2 separate regions of the Homo sapiens genome follow, and region 1 is linked to region 2. Evidence: promoter capture Hi-C in human tissues and cell types (Jung and others, 2019). All regions are on one chromosome and are shown on one strand. Each heading gives the region's core, a stretch centred on a gene start or on the middle of the fragment in contact. The rest is flanking DNA. Distances are from core to core; before and after follow the strand shown. Region 1 overlaps LOC122539214 (Zinc finger protein LOC122539214). Region 2 holds the start of ZNF468 (zinc finger protein 468).

Region 1 (3,681 bases), core at 377-2,876, 180 kb after region 2:
TTTCCAATCTATCAATATTGGTTGTATCTCTATGTTTTTAATCATTTTGATCAATGTTCATAGATTTCAAGGTAGAAACTTCTCGCATTTTTACGTTTATTCCTAAGTATATCTTAGTTTAAATTCTCTAGAAAATGGAAGTGTTTTCTTAATTTCCTTTTAAAATTTTTTACTGTTATTGCATGGAAATTCAACTAATTTTGGTGCTAATATTGTACTCTGCAAATCCACTGAATGTTTATTAGTTCCACTTGTATTTTGGTTGAGTCTTTGTGACTTTCTACACAGAGGATCGTGTCATCTACAAACAAATAAAATTTTATTTATTTCTTTCTGATTTGGATGAGTTTGATTTCTTTTGCTATTTCATTGCTCTGGCTAGGACAGTCAGTATTGATTGAATAGAAAGGGTGAGAACGTTCTAGCATCATGTGAGATCCTACAGGAAAAGCATTCAATTTTTCCTGATTGGTTATTTCAGCTGTGGTCATTTCATGGATGGTCTTTTATATTGTTGAGGTAAATTTCCTTCTTTATTTTGTTTAGGGTTTCTATGATGACAGGATGGTCCTAAGTCTTCACACATCAGGGCCACAGCCCCAACCTCACAGGAAACAGGTGATCTTTTGAAAGGCTTAAGGCCCAAGAGTTCATTTGAGGGCTTTTTAACCTGTGGATTTGGTCTAGAGCCATATCAGAGGGTTGTGTCTGTGTGAGTGTGCAAATGTGTGGTGCTTTCCAAGTTCAGTTGACATTGGTAATTTTTTTTTTTTTTTTTTTTTTTGAGATGGAGTCTCACTCTGTTACCCAGGCTGCAGGGCAGTGGCATGATCTCGACTCACTGCGGCCTCCACCTCTCAGCTTCAACCAATTCTCCTGCCTCAGCCTCCCTAGTAGCTGGGATTACAGGCACACACCACCAGGCCCGGTTAATTTTTTGTATTTTTAGTAGAGATAGGGTTGCACCATGTTGACCAGGCTGGTCTCGAACTTTTGACCTGAGGTGATTGGCCCACCTCAGCCTCCCAAAGAGCCACTGCTCCTGGCCTAATAATTTTTTATTTATTTATTTTTTTGAGTTGGAGTCTCACTCTGTCACCCAGGCTAGAGTGCAGTTGCATGATCTCTGTCTCCAGAAAAAACAAAAAACAAAAAGATAATATTTGCATCGTTATTGGCTCATTTTTGATTACTTGGGAAAACAGCTTTCAAAAGCTTAAGGTTTTTAAATACATGTGACTTTCTATATTTTTTTTCTGATGTTCTGTTTATAGCATTTTGTGTGTGTGTGTGTGTGTGATGGAGTTACACTCTTCTTGTGTACCCTGGAGTGTAGTGGTGCGATCTCAGCTCACTGCAACCTCTGCCTTCTTGGCTCAAATGATTCTCCTGCCACAGCCTCCTGAATATCTGAGATTACAGGCATGCGCCATCACCCTCGGCTAATTTTGTATTTTTTTAGAGACAGGGTTATACCATGTTGGTCAGGCTGGTCTCGAACTCTTGACCTCAGGGGATCCACCCATCTTGGCTCCCAAAGTGCTGGGATTCAAGCATGAGCCACTGTGCCCAGCCATTTGTTTAGTTTTTTGAGATGGAGTCCAGCTCTTTCGCACAGTCTGGAATGCAGTGGTGCAATCTCCACTCACTGCAACCTCTGCTCCCTGGGTTTAAGTGATTCTCATGCCTCAGTCTCCTGAGTAGCTGGGATTACAGGCTCACATCCAGTTTTTTTTGTATTTTTGGTAGAGACAGGGCTTATAGGTTTGAGCCACCACACCTGGCCATCCCCATTTTTATATGTACAATTTAATCATTGACTACAGTCATTCTGTTGTGTTATGAAATAATAGGTCTTATTCTATTTTTTGTACCCATTATCATGTTCTATTTATTAATTATTTCTGATTAAAATAAACTTTTTTGCCATGCACGGTGGCTCATGTCTGTAATCCCAGCACTTTGGAAGGTCAGGATTTGGAGACCAGCCTGGCCAACACGGTGAAACCCCGTCTCTACTAAAAATACAAAAATTAACCCAGCATGATGGCGAGCACCAATAATCCCAGCTACCTGGGAGGCTGAGGCAAGAGAATCATTTGAACCCAGGAGGCAGATGTTGCAGTGAGCCGAGACCGTGCCATTGCACCCCAGCCTAGGCAACAAGAACCAAACTCAATCTCAAAAATAAATAAGTAACTTAATTAATTTTTAAAACATAAAGATGAGGTGCTATGTTGCCTAGGCTGGACTCCAACTGTTGGGCACTAGCCATCCTCCTGCCTCAGCCTCCCATCATGCTCGGATTACAGGCACAAGCCACCATGCCTGACGACATTATGCTTTTTTAAACTTGCTAATATTCTAGATATGCTAATTTCCCTTCTAAATGTAATCATATTTTAGCTAATTACTAGTGTTTGATAGATGAATTCTTCCATAGCTAGGGATGTGGGAGAAAAACATAGTTCATAGTACATGTTAACTTACAGATATAGTCATAAAAGTATTACATGCAGAAATGAGGTGATTTATAATTTCATTTTATTTTTATTTTTATTTTTTTGAGACAGAATCTCACTCTTTTGCTCAGGCTGGAGAGCTGTGGTGAGATCTTTGCTCACTGCAACCTCTGCCTCCTGGATTCAAGAGATTCTCCTGCCTCAATCTCCTGAGTAGCTGAGATTACAGTTTTGTGCCACCTTACCCAGCTAATTGTTGTATTTTTAGTACAGATGGGGTTTCACCATGTTAGCCAGGCTAGTCTCAATCTCCTGACCTCTGGGTCATCCACCTGCCTCGACCTCCCAAAGTGCTGGGATTACAGGTGTGAGTCAATGTGCCCAGCCAATTTTATAACTTAGTTATATTTTTTCAGGGCCCAAGTAAAACGGAATAACTTGACTGCAATGTATTCTTAGTAATATTTCATGATCTTTCTCTATATGAAAATAAATCCTAACATTTAAAGACTGCATATTTTATAGCCTTTGTTATTCCCACCTGATAGAACACTCAGGAGAGAATAACAAAGAAAACACCTAAAATAGATTGCAATTGGATGGGTGTGGTGGCTTGCCTGTAACCCCAACACTTTGGGAAGCAAAGGTGGGTTGATCGCTTGAGTCCAGGAGTTGAAGGCTAGCCTGAGCATCATAGTGGGACCACCCCTCTACAAAGTACTAACAAATTAGCCAGGCTTGGTGGTGAGGGCCTGCAGCTCCAGCTAGTTGGGAGGTGTGGCGGGAGGATTGCTTGAGCACCAGAGGTTGAGGGTGCAAGGAGCAGTGTTCCTGCCACTGCATTCCAGCCGGGGTGACAGAACTAGGTCCTGTCTGAAGGAAAAAAAAAAAGTACAACTTGAAGATAAAAGGTACATTTTCTAATTTTTTCAGAAGGCACATAGAGTGAATTTAATATTACAATACATTTATAAATTATTGATGTTAGCATATTATGTTGTCAACAACATTTATCGTAAAAGTAGTTATATTGCAGGGAAGAACTGTAAAAAAAAGTATTTGAGAATGAGGTGTAAGCTCTGATTTTTTTATCTTGTCCAAATTCCTATGTAAAGAGTCTAGGGGGTCATGCCTTACAAACCACAAAACATATGGCAAAGAAGAAAGTCAAAATATTTGACCTCAAAACATGTTTCTGTGCCATATTTTGAAATGGTCC
Region 2 (3,421 bases), core at 344-2,843:
TTGTATAGAGCAGTGAAGTTTCTCTCTTTTCAACCTCTCAGCTCTTTGCCTGTATTTCCCAACACATTCTGGTCTAAGGCTTATTTACTAATAAAATGGTTTTTATTTCTTCCTGTTTTGTCATGAAGATGATTTCTCATTTTGGGGAAGATTTTTTAGTTTTCAATTGTATTTTTTCAACATTTAAAAAGCGAAGTAAAGAGTATTTCTTGGGCCAGGCACAGTGGCTCACGCCTGTAATCCCAGAACTTCGGGAGGCCGAGGCAGGCGGATCACTTGAAGTCAGGAGTTCGAGACCAGCCTGTCCAACATGATGAAACCCCGTCTGTACCCAAAATACAAAAATTAGCCGGGCATGGTGGGTGTGCCTGTAATGCCAGCTACTCCGGAGGCTGAGGCAGAAGAATCGCTTCAACCCAGGAGGCAGAGGCTGCAGTGAGCCGAGATGTCACCATTGTACTCCAGCCTGGGCGACAGAGAAATACTCAGTCTCAAAAAAAAAAAAAAAAAGAAGAAGAAGAAGAAAAAGAAAAAATGTAAATAAAAAGGAGAAAGTAACAGATCTCTTTTACAAATGTGCTGGGACAACTAACTGGATATCCATATGGAGAAGAGTAATGTTGTATTCCTATCTCACACAAGCAAATTTAGTTTGTTTATTTATTTTTAGAGAGGGAGTCTGGCTCTGTCGCCCAGGCTGGAGTGCAGTGGCTCGGTCTCGGCCCACTGCAAGCTCCACCTCCCATGTTCACCGCATTCTCCTGCCTCAGCCTCCTGAGTAGCTGGGACTACAGGCGCCCGCCACCACGCCCGGCTAATTTTTGTATTTTTAGTGGAGACGGGGTTTCATCGTGTAAGCCAGGATGGTCGCGATCTCCTGACCTCGTGATCCGCCCGCCTCAGCCTCCCAAAGTGCTGGGATTACAGGCGTGAGTCACCGTGCCCGGCCTAATAAAAATTTTATTTTAAAAATTTAAAAAAGAGAGAGACTGCGGGAGGGAATGTTACATTGTCGCGCAGGCTGTCCTGGACCCCCAGGCTGAGCGATCCTCCCGCCGCTGCTTCCTGAGTAGCTGGGACCTCAGGCTCCCACGCCCGCATCCCTGCTGTGTTTAAGCAGCAGGTGGTGACCTCACTCCTCCCTGGCCTGAGCACTCCGTCTGGCATCCCAGGCTGTGGCCCTAGGGATGTCTCTGAAGCTGAGCACTGGGTGGACTCTCCCTCCTGAGTGAATGGAGAATAGAAAGGGAGAAGATTTCTATACTGTCCTGTGGGCCATCAGCATGAAATCCTACGTTCCGCCCAGAAAGGGCTTTGCATTTTACATTCTAGTTTGCATCCTCCTTCCAGACTATTCCAGGGCTTTTGAATTATCCGTCTGCCTTCCTGGGGGCTCTCGCCGCCAAAACCCGGAGAACGGGTTGGGAGGAGGCTGAGAGATGCACAGGTCCCGCTCCGGCCCCGCCCTCTGCGGGTTCTAAAGGGCAAGGTCTCGCCGCTTCGCGCCCCGCCCACACCTCACCCGGGCCCCGCTCGCCTCCTCGTTGGCTCCACCCAGGCCTGGTTTCTGTCCTGCGCGCGCAGATTCGCGCAGACCAGGAAGTGGATCCCGTGGAATGACGGTCACGCCGCGGCGGGCGGTGAGTTTTGCTCTGTGTGGTGTTAAGTCTGAGCTTCCCAGGTCCCCGGCACTTCTGTACATGGGATGTGGGGTCCCCATAGACCTGGAAGTTCTCGCCTTTCTTCCTTCACTCAGAGCAAATGGAGATGTTCTACTGGGAGTCCGGAAGCCCCTTCTTTTTAGGTTTAAAGTCGCCCTGAGGCTGGTCCCGTCCCGGGTCTTTCTGCCATAGGGCAATGTATACGTTTCCTATCGCGTAGTTTTCCTGCTCAAAACCGTTTTTTGACTCCTTCCGCACGGCTCTTTTTAAAGTCCTCACCCTAGAGGTGTATTCCCACCCTGTGCGCCTCCCAGCCTTACTCTCCTGGGTTCCTGGAGCACAGCGCGGCGACCCCAGTCCCGGGAAGGCTGCGTTCTGTGGTCCTGGGATCCTGCGGATCCCACCCTTGTCCGAAGGCGTCGTCGCTCCCCACCTCCCTCCTCCTCTTGCTGGGCCCTGCTGCTCCCCAGATCTCCCCTCCGCAGTCACCGCGTCCCCTGAGCCCTCGTTGGAGAGGTGCCTGGGGCTTGTCCTGTGACGCGGGGTGTTCTTGCCCGCCCAGCTCCAGCACTTGGAAAATGCGCTTCTCCGAGATGCAGGCGTCTTACTCCAAACCCTCTTGTGATCGTGTGGGCCAAAGGGATCAGGAGACAGAGAGAGGGACTGAGAGAGCAGTAGAAAACCTGAGACAGAGAAAAGAAGAATGAGAAAGACCCATAACAGATGGCAAAGTAGAGGATGGGTGAGGGATTTGCCAAGAGACAGCAAAAGTGATAAAAGATAAGAAAGCAGGAGGAGAAAAGCAACTGGAGAAATGTAGAGAAAAGCTAGATGTACAGAGAGATGAAGGACAGCAAGGTAGGGAGAGGGGCAGAAATGTGGAGGCTCATCAGAGTGAGGGAGAGGAGGAGGGATGTGGAGCCGGGTCAGACAGAGCAGAGTGGTGCTGGTGGCAAGGAGAACAGAGGGAGAAGCACAGCGGGGAGGACACCTGGGGATCTGGGGTGCCAGATTGGGTCCAGGGGGTTATAACAGAGAAGAGAGAATTTAACAGGGAGAGCAGAGGAGGCGCATAGATGGGAGAAGAGGCAGAAATCTATGGAGATTGAGGACGATCTAAAGATTGGGGAGAAGGACCAACAGGAGGTTAAATAAGTTGCAAGGATGGAGCCCAGCTAATTTTTGTATTTCTAGTAGAGATAGGGTTTCACCATGTTGGCCAGGTTGGTCTCAAACTCCTGACCTCAGGTAATCCACCCACCTCCACCTCCCAAAGTGCTGGAATTACAGGTGTGAACCACCTCAGCTGTCCACCCATGTATTTCTTGATTGAAATAATTTGCTTATGTCTTGGTTCTACAGCTGACCCTGTTTCCCTGTTTTCAAGGTCAAGAGCTGTGTGTTTACACTGCTGCATTTTATAAATGTTAGTGTGATTTTCTTGTAAGGAAGAATTCAATGTTGGGAGTCAATTTCATCAGAACCTTTCAAAAGAATTTTCTTTAACCCAGGCATGTGAAAAATGCTTCTCTAATTTTAAGAATGGGATGATAAGACCAACCCATCCCATTAGCCCTTCCAGGCCCCCATGTAAGAATTCAGGCACACCTTCTCACTCATCTCAGACCTTCTCAGGGTAACTTCGTGAAAATGTTTCCAGCTCTGAGCCCCAGTGAACCTCCCTGCATCTTTGCGACGAAGGGCTAGACCAGAAAAGCTCAACCTGAGTGATCCTGACCCCTGAAATGATTGGCAAAATA

Evidence for each region. Contacts are between HindIII fragments. The study calls those that stand out against the background at their distance.
Region 1: a fragment that was not itself captured here is called in contact with the fragment with the promoter of ZNF468 in region 2 in 6 of the 25 tissues and cell types used here (H1 embryonic stem cells, adrenal gland, heart left ventricle and 3 more).

The regions. Positions count from the first base shown.
Region 1 is chr19:52,671,119-52,674,799 of GRCh38, reverse strand. All of the region lies in intron 1 of LOC122539214 (Zinc finger protein LOC122539214), which reads left to right. It also overlaps a transcript of ZNF83 not described here. Among named protein-coding and RNA genes, the nearest start is that of ZNF83, 35 kb to the right of the region's middle. RefSeq lists an enhancer at 291-790. The HindIII fragment of the contact is 8,097 bases long and covers 1-3,681 here.
Region 2 is chr19:52,855,791-52,859,211 of GRCh38, reverse strand. ZNF468 (zinc finger protein 468) reads left to right here and starts at 1,593. Exons shown (of 4, transcript NM_001008801.2): 1 at 1,593-1,640. RefSeq lists an enhancer at 1,915-1,994. The HindIII fragment of the contact is 14,237 bases long and covers 1-3,421 here.